Regions from separate parts of the Homo sapiens genome. Here region 1 is linked to region 2. The links are contacts of gene promoters, found by promoter capture Hi-C in blood cells and fetal thymus (Javierre and others, 2016). All regions are on one chromosome and are shown on one strand. The core of a region is centred on a gene start or on the middle of the fragment in contact, and the rest is flanking DNA. Distances in the headings are between cores, read along the strand shown. Region 1 has its middle 13 kb from the start of SLC47A2. Region 2 holds the start of EPN2 (epsin 2).

Evidence for each region. The method cuts DNA at HindIII sites, captures the fragments that hold promoters and counts their contacts. A CHiCAGO score of 5 or more calls a contact.
Region 1: a fragment that was not itself captured here is called in contact with the fragment with the promoter of EPN2 in region 2 in 1 of 17 cell types (megakaryocytes); the score reaches 5.2 in megakaryocytes.

The regions. Positions count from the first base shown.
Region 1 is chr17:19,726,324-19,732,961 of GRCh38, forward strand. No RefSeq gene overlaps it. Among named protein-coding and RNA genes, the nearest start is that of SLC47A2, 13 kb to the left of the region's middle. The HindIII fragment of the contact is 593 bases long and covers 1,427-2,019 here.
Region 2 is chr17:19,235,509-19,242,655 of GRCh38, forward strand. It overlaps EPN2 (epsin 2), which reads left to right and starts at 1,858. Exons shown (of 11, transcript NM_014964.5): 1 at 1,858-2,023. RefSeq lists a silencer at 1,766-2,235. The HindIII fragment of the contact is 5,263 bases long and covers 1-3,379 here.

The DNA of each region.
Region 1 (6,638 bases), core at 473-2,972, 490 kb after region 2:
CAGCCAAGATGGTAAATTTTATGTTGTGTGTATTTTATCACGATTAAAATACAAATAAAAACAAACCTGACATACAGTATTGGTACAAGAAGGAGATAGGCTAACATAGATGTAAGTGTCTGGAACCTAGTAGACATTTATCCAATGTTATGGTCCTTTTTTCTTTCATGCTAAAATTCTGGGTCCTTGGCTCCTGATGTCTTAAAGACATAGACTAGATGAAACTCATTTGTAAGTAGCCCAGACATTACTTATATATCAATGAACACTGTAAAAGTTCTCAGGTTTCTTTTCTTAAGTAGGTTAAATAATCTGCATAACACATTTTGTTACATAACAAATATTTTTGAAGAAGGAGTAAGAGGAGGAGAACGAGGAGGAGGGGGGGGAGAAGGAGAAGATGACTCCTTTGGCTTGGAAAGAAAACTTTGGCTTGGCGTTTAGCATTTTCATTTCTACAAATTCCCCACAGAATACGTCTGAATGGTGTGTAGGAGTGTATGTGATGATGTAATGATATATGTAGGAATCGGAGCCTCCATTATGTGCTAATTGTGCAGCACGAGACACATCTCATTTAATCTCATTTAATGCCAACCTTTTCAGGCAGATATACTTATTCCCATTTTACAAATGACAGGATTGAAGCTCAGAGAAAGAAAGTACTTGCCCAAGGTCACACTGCTAGAAAGTGGCAGACTCAGAATATGAGGCTGAGTCTGTCTCCTATCCAAGTGCACATCCTTTCTACTTCATCTGGGATGACAGATAGCTTTTCTCCAGCCTGCCAGTTCTACTCTGTTGTACTGCATTGCTATATTGTGAATTCAGCGGATTCAGCAAAGCAAACAAGAGTGCGGTGATCAACTTGTAATGTCTGCCATGGACACTGGATAGAGGAGTAACAGTATGTGTGCTTATGGAAAAACCTCTCCAACTTACATCATAGTGAGCACAGGTTTAGGAGCAGAACTAGAAAGAAAATATTTTTTTCTGTCTGTCTAGCAACTGTTGGCCTGAAAAAGAACTCAGTGTCAGAATGGTCAGGAAGGCCCAGCCTTCCTACTGTCAGGGTGTCTAGCCGGGGCTAGGTCTCTCTGTCCTCACCCCTTTGCCTTCCCAAGGTAGGGAAGGTGTAGAAAATCCAGTTGGGAATTTCTGGTAGAAACTTCTACTCCTGGTGCCAATTTCTACCAGTCAGCTACCCTGTAAACTTCTATCAGGCATACAAGCCTTGGGAAACAGAGAGCTGTTGTCTTGCTCAAGCACAAGTTACCAGCAACAAACATTTGTTTCCCAGCAGATCACATGAGGACTTGTGAGATCATGTCTGGCCCTGGCTCAAATAGAAGATGTTCCATTAAAGCAGTTCCCGGGGACCAGGCCTAGGCAACTTTCCTAGGATGGGCAAGGCAGTTGTTCGGGAAGCTTGGCACCTGCACAGCCCCATTGTCATGTGAGGAAACGAAGGGTGTGAGCTTTCCCCCACCTGTCCACTTAGAAGCGTGGGTCAAAGCAGAGAAGAGGGGATATCTCCTTCCCATCTGCCCTTGTCCTCCCACCCCACCCAGGCTGAGGTGCCTCCTACTCCTCCTGCTCTGCTAAGAGGCTGAGATCTGTCTGAGCTGTTGGCAGAACCCTAGAAAGTGCTCCCAGGTCATCCCAGGCCTCCCAGAGGCAGGGTCTGGCAGGGTGGAGAGCTGCCATCATGGCAGAGAACTGCAGCATCAGGCAGGGAAACCAAGGCAGGGCCCAATGGGTGTGGGTGAAAGCTGCACATCCAGAAGTACACGGCTTCCCCCAGGCACCGCAGATCCTGGCCCTGAACGACAAGAGTGCCTGACCTCACGATTGCCAGCAGCTGCCTGTCCTGCAAGGCCTGGCCCTGTGCCAGGGCAGCTGCTTTGCGTGTGGCTGCCTCTCCTGCCCAAACAATTTCTGTTGCCTTTAGGAATGAAGGAGCTCAGGCCAAGCCCAGTTGGTGTTTTCAAAATTTCCTGTAAACAAAGGAAAAGATGAAGCTTATATAACACCCTTGGCTGGAGAATCAGCGGCTGCTTGGCATAGCTGAGAGAGAGGCCTGGGCGCAGACAGTGGTGTGTCCAGGCAGGCAGGGGCCTGGGTCATCCCTCTCAGGACTATTCTTTCTGAACCTTCTGCAAACTCTCCAGTGACCTCTGGGGCCCATTTCAGAGGTCTGAGCAGCTCAGGCTTGGAGAACCACAGAGCTAGAAGGAAAAAGTATTGGAAATAATAAGAACTAATATTCATTAGCCCCCGATTAGGCGCAAGTGCTTTACCTGCACAATCTCATTTAATCCACACCAACCCTAGGAGGCAAACACTGAGGTAACCAATTAGTAGCTGAAAGATAGGCCCGGGGGTGGGCCAGCCACCCACGTTCACATGGTTGGGTATGATCGATCACTTGGCCCTCAGCTTCCCTTCCACCTCCTGCTCACAGCTCTCTATGCAGCAGCAGCTAAAACCCACATTTCCCAGACTCCCCTGGGGCAGGGTTCCAGGGAAGAATGAAGTTCTGCACTTCAGATGCACTTGTGTGAGAGTTGGCTGCTTCGGGCCAGGCGCGGTGGCTCACGCCTGTAATCCCAGCACTTTGGGAGGCCGAGAAGGGTAGATCACAAGGTCAGGAGTTTGAGACCAACCTGACCAACATGCTGAAACCCTGTCTCTACTAAAAAAAAAAAAAAATTAATTAGCCGGGCGTGGTGGCAGGCGCCTGTAATCCCAGCTACTGGGGAGGCTGAGGCAGGAGAATCACTCGAACCCAGGAGGCGGAGGTTGTGGTGAGCTGAGATCAAGCCACTGCACTCCAGCCTGGGTGACAGAGGGAGACTCTGTCTCAAAAAAAAGAAAAAAAAAAAAAGAGTTGGCTGCTTTGGTTGCTGGGTTTCCTGCACTAGTGATCTCTTATCCAGCAGCCGCTTCTGTGAGTGTCAAGAAGCAGTTACAGTGGTGATGGCAGTGCCAGCTTCCCAGTCCCAGCTTCCCTTGGATTGAGCCCATGACAGGAAGGTTTTGTTTGTTTGAGATGGAGTTTTGCTCTTGTTGCCCAGGCTGGAGTGCAATGGCAAGATCTCGGCTCATTGCAACCTCCAGCTCCCAGGTTCAAGCGATACTCCTGCCTCAGCCTCCCAAATAACTGGAACTACAGGTGTGCAGCACCACGCCCAGCTAATTTTGTATTTTTAGTAGAGACGGGGTTTCACCATGTTGGCCAGGCTGGACTCAAACTCCTGACCTCAAGTGATCCGCCCGCCTCAGCCTCCCAAAGTGCTGGCATTACAGGCGTGAGCCACCGCTCCCGGCCGACAGGGAGTTCTTGACTTTCACAGTTGCAGGGTGGCCTCAGGTGGGTGGTGTGTGTGCGCAGGGATCTGCACAAAGACTGGCGTTGCGCGGGTGTCTACAGTCTGGAGGCCCTGCTGACGCCCTGCAGTCCTGGGGAGGAAGAGACTTGGAGGGAGGAGGTGCTGGGAGGTCTAAGCAGAAGTCTCAGGAGAACAAGCCCGCCCTGTTCAGGAGACACTGGAACAAGGAGTACACCAAGCGGTAAGAGGAGGAGAGATAAGAGGCTCTCAGATGTAAGTAATGGGAAATGCTTCAAAATGGCAAAATGGCTTGAGGAAAAGAAAATTTGTTAAAGGGAAGGCAGCTCCAGCAGCTCATTCACATCCCAGAGCAGCCCAGGGGCATCATCTCCCTACTAAGCCGGTCTCAGCCCGCCGGCCTCGCCTCAGGGCTGTCCTCATGGCCACAAGATGGCTGTGCATTCCAAGTTCACAACCAGACATGCCACTCTCTGGCGGGAGAGGGGTCGCCCTTTCTTGTGCATCTGTTTTTATTGGTGCTATGATCTGAATGTTTGTGTCCCCCTAAGCATTCAGGTGTTGAAATCCTTGTCCCCAGTGTGATGGTATTAGGAGTTTGGGGCCTTTGGGAGGTGATTAGTGCCCTTACAAAAAAGGCCTGAGGGGCCGGGCAGGTGCCTGTAATCACAGCACTCTGAGAGGCTGAGGCGGGCAGATCACTTGATGTCGGGAGTTTGAGACCAGCCTGGCCAACATGGTGAAACACCATCTCTACTAAAAATACTCTACTAAAAATTAGCTGGGCGTGGTGGTGCACGCCTGTAATCCCAGCACTTTGGGAGGCCAAGGTGAGTGGATCACTTGAGGCCAAGAGTTCGAGACCAGCCTGACCAACATGGTGAAACCCCATCTCTACTAAAAATACAAAAATTAGCTGGGCGTGGTGGTACACACCTGTAATTCCAGCTACTCGGGAGGCTGAGGCAGGAGAATCACTTGAACCCGGGAGGTGAAGTTTGCAGTGAGCCAAGATTGTGCCACTGCACTCCAGCCTGGGTGACAGAGTGAGACTCTGTCTAAAACAAAAAACAAAAAACAAACAAATAACATATAACCCAGATATAGTGATGCCCTGGCTCTAGCCTAGAACATAGGATGAAAATCTCAGGATCCTAAGCATCATCATTTTTAAAGAAATTTTCAAAATTGAATTCTGTTAACAATGAGGGAGGAGGAACAGATTTGCACAGGCAACAGCAGTGTTTGCCACGCTTGCTCAGTCCAGGCAGTCAGTCCAGCCACTCAAGGTGACTCCAGAGAAATTTTGGGAAAGAAGGGGACTCAGAGAAGGAGCCACCCTGCTGTCCCCTGGGCAGGGCTGGCCCACAGCAGAGGCGGAGCTGAGTCCAAGCCTGGCACCAGTCCTCCCTGCAGCCTTCTGGAGTGTGAGCTGGTGAAGTTCCTTTTTTAAACTTTTTGAATCTTAGTTTGCTGCTATTTCAACATCATCCTGACAGATTGGGATCCGGGAAATGTCACCCGCTCAGCCTTGAGTACCCCAAAGTGGGATGAGCAGAGAGGTGGCCAAGGAGTAGAGGGGAGTCCCGGCAGAGCAGTGAGGGCTCTGGAGCCGGGGGCCCCACATTCAAGGCAGATGGTGTGGGAACTGCCTGGATGGCAGCAGTTGGGGGAGAGGGGACAAGAGTCATTGCAGGTCAGGGTTGGAGCTCAGGGGCCCGTGCCCTACCTTTCCCTCAGGCAAGTCCTCAACCAATGGTCTCTAAACACCAGCACACCCCTCATGACCTGCATGGCGTGGCCTGGCTTTGTAGGGTAGTTCTCATGTCACTTTATTCCTGTGTTTATTGTCTTTCTCTGTCCATGCAGCAGGGACATTTGCTGCTCAACAAATAACGACTGCTCCTCCACAGTTCCCAGAACCCTTTCAGCTCTGGGCTGTGGTCCTGGCCAGTGGGCTATGAGTGGAGGTGATCTGGGGTGGCCTCTCCAGTTCTCCCTTCCCTGCTTTGGTGAACCCCTAGCCCTGCACTGAGATGGTGAAGGCTCTGTCAGCTCCTCTCTGGTTGACCTTGTGGAGCAGAGCTCCCCCAACCTCCTCTGTAGCCGCCGCCATTCTGAGGTTAACTTGTTCCTGCCGCATAACCCTGCAGGTCCTGCCGAAGACGCTCCCATCAAGGTGAGCTCCTCGAGCGCAGTCCCCGCCACGACTGCCTGCTGGAGGAACCCATAGGTGGGCGCAATCTTCCCTTCTGCTCTAGAACATCAGGAGACAGAGGGCATCAGCAATGCAACAGAGACGGAAGCCTTTTATGGCTTGAGACTTTGCCTTTTAGTTTCCTGTTTGGGAGAGACTCTACATTTTCTTTTGTTTTGCTTTGTTTTTTTGTTTGTTTGTTTTGAGACAGAGTCTCACTCTGTCACCCAGGCTGGAGTGTAGAGATGCTACCTTGGCTCACTGCAACATCTACCTCCTAGGTTCAAGCGATTCTCCTGCCTCAGCCTCCAGAGTAGCTGGATTACAGGCACCTGCCACCACACCCAGCTAATTTTTGTATTTTAGTAGAGAAGGGGTTTCACCATGTTGGTTAGGCTGGTCTCAAACTCCTGACCTCAAATGATCTGCCCGCCTCAGCCTCCCAAAGTGCTGGGATTACATACATTTTTTTTTTAATCTGAGAATCTAAACACCAGGAGCAATCAATGGACTCAACAATGGCATGCTATGGCTGTGGCTCCTGGGCAGAAGTAGGCCCCCTTCTGTGCACCATGCATAGCATGGCATGGATTGCAATGTGCAATCCGGAAATGTCACCTGCTCTCCTTGGTGACACGAGAGTTGCGATTATCCTTGGTCTTTATGTTTTGGACAATAGCAATTATGTGGAAAGGTTGAATCATAATTGGGCAAATATTTTTTTCCAGCCCATTCCTTAATCCATGTCATAGAAAGAAAAAACAGTAGATTAAATCATGGTGTTGGGACTAGACCAATTTTTTTAAATTGCTGTTTTATTTTAAATTGAGATCTAATTTGGAAATAGAATTAGTTCAGAAAAGGTCAGACTTGGGGCATTATGAATAAAGTAGGTAATATTGTAAATTGTGTCATACTAACAACACATAGAAAAAGGAGATGGACGAGGATGAAAAGAAGAGGAAGAGGAGAAAGAGGTGATTATGATTCTCACCCACCTGCTCTAATTCTTCAGTTTGGAAAGTGCAGATAATGTCCTTGGGAACCCTTAGCTTTCTCTCCTCCATTCTGAATGTTTCCAACTGCGTCAA
Region 2 (7,147 bases), core at 608-3,107:
AAATTAATAAAAGTTTAATGAAGTTTAAAAAATTCAGCCCCTCAGTCTCACTAGCCACATTTCAAGTGCTCGCTGGCCTCCTGTGACTCGTAGCTATCCTACGGACAGCACGCAGAAAGAACATTTCCATCGTGGAGGGAAATTCTGCTGAACAGTGCTGATTTAGAAGCATCACGCCCGTGCTGTGCATCAGCTCTGTGTTATAACTCATCTGACATTGTAAACTCAGGGCAGAAGCATGATTGCAGTGTAAAGTTCTGCTTTCCTTGGAGATGGGGTAAAGAGGTGAGGCTCACAAGGAATGTTGGACTGGTTGAGGGCATTCTCTGGGATGAGGGTGGACCAAGTTCAAAACGGGGAGCTCCGGCTTCTGCTGCAAGGCAGGCACATAGGGCATAATTCCCTCTGCTGGTGGAGAAGGGGCACCAAGCAGTGGGAAGGGTGGTTAACTGGAGAGTGTTTCTAGCATCTAGAGCTACCAGTGTTTGACTTTTCAAAGGAAAAGTGGCTATGTGGTTTTGCAAACGTGTTACAAGCTCTCTCCATTTTTATCGTATTTATTGTATCACTAGCTAGACTAATAAAGAAAAAAGAGAAGATACAAGTAAACATAATCAGAAAGGGCAAAGAGGACATTACCACCGACCCCATACAAACACAAAAAAGCCCTCAAAAACTATTATGAACACGTCTATGCACACACACTAAAAAACTTACAATAAATAGATGAATTCCTGGAAAGATACAACCTTTTTTTTTTTTGCCAGAGAATGGAATTCCAGATCCTGGGTTGTTAGAACCTTAAGGGATACTTTCATCCCCTGGTTCCTGTACAGGGAGGAGGAATCTGAGGCTCAGAGAAGTACAGTGACTTGTTTAAGGTCCCTCAGTGAGTTAGGGCAGAGGAAGACTTCTGGCCACAGCTTCCCTGAAGCCAAGGCTAGGCAGAGTGTTGATGTCACCCAGGCAACAGGGATGGTGCCCTCTGCCCACCTAGCAAGCCCTGACTCATGCTCCGCGCCCCTGCTGTGAGAAGTCTCTGCTGACTCCCACCCTGATTGGAGCAGGTTAGTCAGCTTTGAGGTGCAGCCTCCAGTTCTGGCCCCTCCAGTTCCGGGACTCTCATTCGAGGCATTTGGGGCTGTCTCATTTCTGTGCCCAGCACAGGGCTTGGCACAGAGGAGGTGCTTTGTGGGTGCCCGCCAGTCAAGGGTTTCCGTTTTCGTGCCATGTAGGTAACCCCTTGCCATTCGTGCCCTTAGGTAACCCCTTGAGCAGCCTAAAGAAGCCTAGAGACTTCTCCGTTTTTGAGTATATTTTATTGACGTGAAATACACGCACGGAAAAGCGCACAAATCCAAAGTGTACTTCCGCGCATCTTCATAAAGTGAACACACTTGTAGCCTAAGAACCCAACCCTACCAGCGCCCGGCAGGCCCTGGCCCCCTTCCAGTCTCTCCTACTGAACAAGGTTTTTGAGTGAAACCGGCAGGCCGGAGCGTGAGTTTCTGCTTGACGGGGCGGGGTCTGCGCGTGCTGCCCGGCCGTGAGTGTGGGGGGGCCGTGAGTGTGTACGGGGTGGAGTGGCCTGAAGGGGATTAGAGTGCGCGCGTTCGGGTATTAATTTGCCAGGGTTTGTGTGGCGCTCGGGATTGGGGGTTTTTTGGGGGCTCGGGCGTCGACTGTGGGGCGCTGCGGAAGGGTGGGTCGTCCGCGTGGGGTCCTGGAGCGCAGGAGGCGGAGGGGAAGCCGCGCAGGGGCCACTAGGGAGGGGCTCTGGCGGGGTCGCAGGGGCGTGGTCTGCGGGCGTGGGGGCGGGACCTCGGGGCCTCGGGGGCGGGGCCTGAGGGCGCGCGCACGCGTCCGGCGCGCCCCCTCCCGGCCGCCATGTTGGCTGGTGTGTGGGTGTCAAACTGAGCCAGACGCGGCGGTGGCGGCGGCTCCGCGGGCTACGGTCGCTCCCGCCTCTCGAGCGCTGCCGGTGGCCGCAGCGGCGCACCCACGCCGGCCCGGAGGAGCAGAGGTGAGCCACAGCCCGTGGGGCTCCAAGGCCAGAGCGAGTCCCCGGGGCGAGGACCCTCCCCCTCTCCAGGGCGCGGACGCCCCCAGAGCACAGGCTCCCCTACCTCACCAGCCCCGCCAGGGCATGCGCCCCTGCCGCCCCGCTGGTCCCTACGCCAGGCTCTGGGGGATCCCCTTCTTTCCAACCAGGCCCCGCCCCACGGACTGGAGCATGGCCCCCTTCCCATCTGGATCCAGCTTTCCGCTGCAAGGATCTCCCCCCTTACCCGTCCCTATCACCGAGCATCTCCTTTTATGTCCCCAGAGTCCAGGGCGCCCCTTACTCCTACCTCGGATCCTGGAGCCCCGTTCATCTTGGAACAACCCCGCCCCCTCCCCAGAGCACGTTCCTCCTCTCCCCGAGCCCGGCGCCCCTTCCTCCTGAGCCCAGCCTGGTCTCCCGCCAGCCCCCGTGCAGAGCCCGGTCCGGGCGCCCTCCGGGAATCGGGGGAGGGGTCCTTATCTCTGTCCGGGATCCCGCCCGTCTCACCTTTCCTGGGGGCTGTAGCAGGGCCCCCTTCCGTCCTTGGGGACCAGGCTCCCCACTCCCCAGCCCCCACTCCCACGGAACAGCGGGGACGGGGGCGGAAGAGCCAGGCTCCAGCTGCCTTTTGTTCCGCGTGGGATGGCAGAGACCCACCCGGCCCGGCGGTCCTGCTCGGCTGATCCGGGTGGGTGAATGGGTGCGTGGGGTCTGGCCTCTTCCAGGAGAGACTTCCTCTCTCTCCCTGTGGGGCGGCTCCCCTAGAGCCGAGAGCCGAGCGCGTTGGGAGGCTGGCCTTTGCTAGAGGAGTCGGTGCCAACAGGTTTTTGTTTGCGACCTGAAGTTTGCCCAGTGGCTTTCCCTGGGGCAGCTTGAGCTCCCTGTGAATCCCCCCGCCGGAGCTTGTGGAAGGCCGTTTCTCCGCCCAAGGAGTCCGTCTGGGCGACTCCTTCACAGTTGTGCTTCCCTGGGGACGTATCTAAAATCTGTGCTTTAAGAGCGGAGAGGGCTTAACCATCATTAGGGTTCAGATGAGGGAAACTGAGGCCCAGAACTGCAGTAATTTGCCCAAGGTCACGCAGTGATACTGTGTCAGTGCAGAACTAGAAGCTAGGTCTCCAGGCTCTGTTTACCACATTTAATAACTTTTTTATCTTTTAGGGAGATGTTCAGGACCCTACCTTCCCCTTTATTTTTAATATTTATGCAAGAAAGTGGGCAGGAAAATATGAGAAGTAATGAGTTATTCCTTTTCACCTCCAGAAAATATCCTGTGAAAGAAGGGATTGGAACAGGGTGTTAAAATGATGGGAAAAGGTGAATTTTAAGAATCCAAGCTTCCTCTCATTATGTAATATAACGAAGATTTGGCAGAAAACGTGCCTCTTGTAGCTCTAGATACAGAATTTTAGGTGCTGACAAAATCTTATGCTGAATCTGGCACAGCAGTGATTGAGTTAGCATTGATAATTAAGTTTTCATCTGTATTTAAATGAACATCAAAAGGGACTACAATTTGCTTCTGAATGGTACTTGTTCGGTGCTTGTTTTTGGGACAAGTGATTGTGTTGGGGAAGCGCACCTAAACTTTTAAATTTTTTATTTATTTATTTTTTTGAGACGGAGTCTCTGTCACCCAGGCTAGAGTGCAGTGGCACGATCTCGGCTCACCGAAACCTCCGCCTCCTGGGTTCAAGCGATTCTCCTGCCTCAGCCTCCGGAGTAGCTGGGATTACAGGCGCACGCCATCCACCACGCCCGGCTAATCTTTGTATTTTTAGTAGAGACGGGATTTCGCCACGTTGGCCAGGCTGGTCTCGAACTCCTGACCTCATGTGATCCGCCCACCTCGGCCTCCCAAAGTGCTGGGATTACAGGCGTGAGCCAACACTCCCGGCCTAAATCTTTTATTTATCTGTATTTTTACTTTTACATTTTAAAAGCTTATTTATTTCCCTGGTTTTAAAATTGGGCTAGTCATCTTTACCAGTCTCACTGGGCTATTCTTTTGTAAGCAGGGAATGAGATACTGGTTATTAAAGATTTTGGTAAAGTGTAAGTTACTGTAAGGCATGATTCAGGACTGCGTCCCACAAGTCCCCGGACCAGGAGCCAGTTCGGATTGTCTTGTGGGATGTACCAAGTTTCCCTGGTTTACAGAGGCTTTTTGCCTCTCTGAAGCCTGAGCTGGCCAGATGGAGAGCTCTGTGGAAAACTTCCAGCAGTGTGTGTTGGGCCAAGCACTCGAGGTGTGAAGAAATGTAAAACTTTCAAGTGATAATATCTAGCATCGTGTATGCAGCCTTGAAAAATGACCCAACCTTTGTAGAAATTCTCTGTTATCACTAACCCTCTTCCATAATGAGCGGAGGATTTCCCAAGAATTGGGATTCTGATAAGAGTCCTGCAAAAGTTGAAAAGTTTTCGGACTTTTTTTTTTTTTAACTTTAATTAGGAGGAGCGGCAACTTTCGGTTGTGAACTGAAGTACTATGAGATTTTTATGCATGGAATTGTCCTTGTCATACTTTTGGAAAGTACATTAAAATTTTCTAAGTTTTCTGGCGGTTCTCACTGTTCCCCATAACCTTTCTCTCTGGTGTATAGGGGTGTGAAGGACCACGATTGTTGTCATTTTATGACATGTATACCTGGTGACCCTGAGCCTTGGAGAAGTCAAAGGGCTTGGATTTGGGGAATTTTTTTTTTTTTGAGATGGCGTCTCACGCTGTCACCCAGGCTGGAGTGCAGTGGCGCAATCTTGGCTCACTGCAAACCTCTGCCTCCTGGGTTCAAGTGATTCTCCTGCCTAACCTCCCGAGTAGCTGGGACTACAGGCGTGTGCCACCATGCCCGGCTAATTTTTGTATTTTTAGTAGAGATAGGGTTTTGCCATGCTGGCCAGGCTGATCTCGAACTCCTGACTTCAAGTGATCCACCTATCTTGGCCTCCCAAAGTGCTGGGATTACAGGTGTGAGCCACCATGGCCGGCCTTGGATTCGGGGAAGTTGAGGCTGGAAAAGATGTGAGGAATTACGTAGTTTGTATCCCTTTTTTGTCTGCTGGACTTTTAACTCATGTATTCGGTGTAAACAGACCTCTTCTGTCAATACTTTGCCGTCTAGCTCGTCCGATGTTTGGCCCCTTTTTCTCTGCTATCCTACCTTCACCAACCCACACAGTCTGCTGGTGCACTTACGACATTGTCCGTGTATCTGGGGCTCTTGTGACACTGTGACGTCTTTGAGGCCAGTGGTCAGCTTGTCTTTACTTCTCCAGTACCAGGCTCGGTCTCTGATAGATGGTAGATGCTCAGTAAAGGTTTGTCACCAGTATTCCTCGAGGCAGGGGAGCACATTTTTATGGCTCCCTACTGTTCTGTCGCACTGTTGCTGAAATCACTACTGTTGGTTCAGCAATTGTGTGTCAGTTGCATAGGTTTATCCACCTCATCTGCAGGTGAGGAAACTGAGGCCTAGGGAGCTTAAGTTACATGCTCGAGGTCGCGCAGCCAGTAAGTGATTTGAACAGATCTGTTGGACTCCAAAATGTTATTATACCTGTTACCTACTTCGAGGACCAAGTCTCATGGGGATGAAGAGACACACTGCAAGTTAACAGTGGACTGAGGGAGGTGGGGTGATATGATTAAGGTGGTTGAGGATGGGAAGAGCACATTTGTTTTTTGTCAGATGCATTGTGAAATGAATGTTTATGTCCATCTGTTGAGTTTTTGAAAATTGACAAACTTGCCGGGCATGGTGGCTCACGCCTGTAATTCCAGCACTTTGGGAGGCCAAAGCGGCCGGATCACCCTGAGGTCAAGGGATCGAGACCATTCTGGCCAACATGGTGAAACCCCATCTCTACTAAAAATACAAAAATTAGCTGGGCGTGGTGGTGCACACCTGTAGTCCCAGCTACTCGGGAGGCTGAGGCAGGAGAATCACTTGAACCTGGGAGGCAGAGGTTGCAGTGAGCCGAGATCGCACCACTGTGCTCCAGCTTGGCGACAGAGCAAGACTCTGTCTCAAAAAAAAAAAAAAAAAAAAAATTGACAAACTTTCTGATAAGTTCGTCAATGGAATTTTATTGCTTAACTAGTTCATTCAAGTTAACTAAAAATAGAAACTTAGAAAAACAAATACAGTGAAATAAGTATATGTTGAAAGCCGTTTCAGCAGCCTTTTTTTAAACCACTGTAATTTCCATCAACATTTAACATAGGGATTATCACCCATTTGTGAGTAGAAAAACTGAGGCCCAGAGAGGTTAAGTAAGCTGTGAGGAACTGGCACAGCCAGGATTCAAAGTGAATCTGTGTAATTCCCAGGCCTGGGTCCCTTCTGCTCCACTGGCCCCTGTAGAAGGCCCCACAAAATAATAGGTATTCATTTAAATAATAGAATAAATTTGTTGTCTGAAAGTCACCACCAAGTTTATTTAGAAGGTTGGGAATTGTGAATAACGAGATTTCTGGCTCTTTCCTAACCTTAGAACCTTTGAAAACACTGTGGTTTGAATGTCAATAATTAATGGATCATTTTAGCTGAGAGACACTAGATTTGGTGTTTGATCTGAAAAAAAAAAAAAAAAAGCCTAGGCCAGCCACGGTGGCTCATGCCTGTAATCCCAGCATTTTGGGAGGCTGAGGTGGGCGGATCACTTGAGGCCTAGAGTTTTTGAGACGAGTCTGGCCAGTATGGCAAAACCCTGTCTTGACCAAAAAAATACAAAAATTAGCCGGGCATAGTGGCATACACCTGTAGTCCCAGCTACTCAGGAGGCTGAGGCAGGAAAATCACTTGAACCTGGGAAGGGGAGGTTGCAGTGAGTCTCCAGCCTGGGTGACAGAGCAAGACTCTTGTCTCAAAAAACAAAAACAAAAAACCTGTCTTCTTTTGAACCAGATCCGCAACATTGTTAAAATGCTCCCTATCCATGCATTGGATTCTTTCTGTGACTCATTCCCCTAGTACCTAGGTGCTGGAGCCTGCTTCGTTCCTGGGCATAGAAAGTCCTTTTCCTGATTCTGTTTCCTGTTGGTCCTGGTCTAGGCAGAGTGTGCTTCACTTTCAAGCCCTCTAGAGACAGGACAGGTAA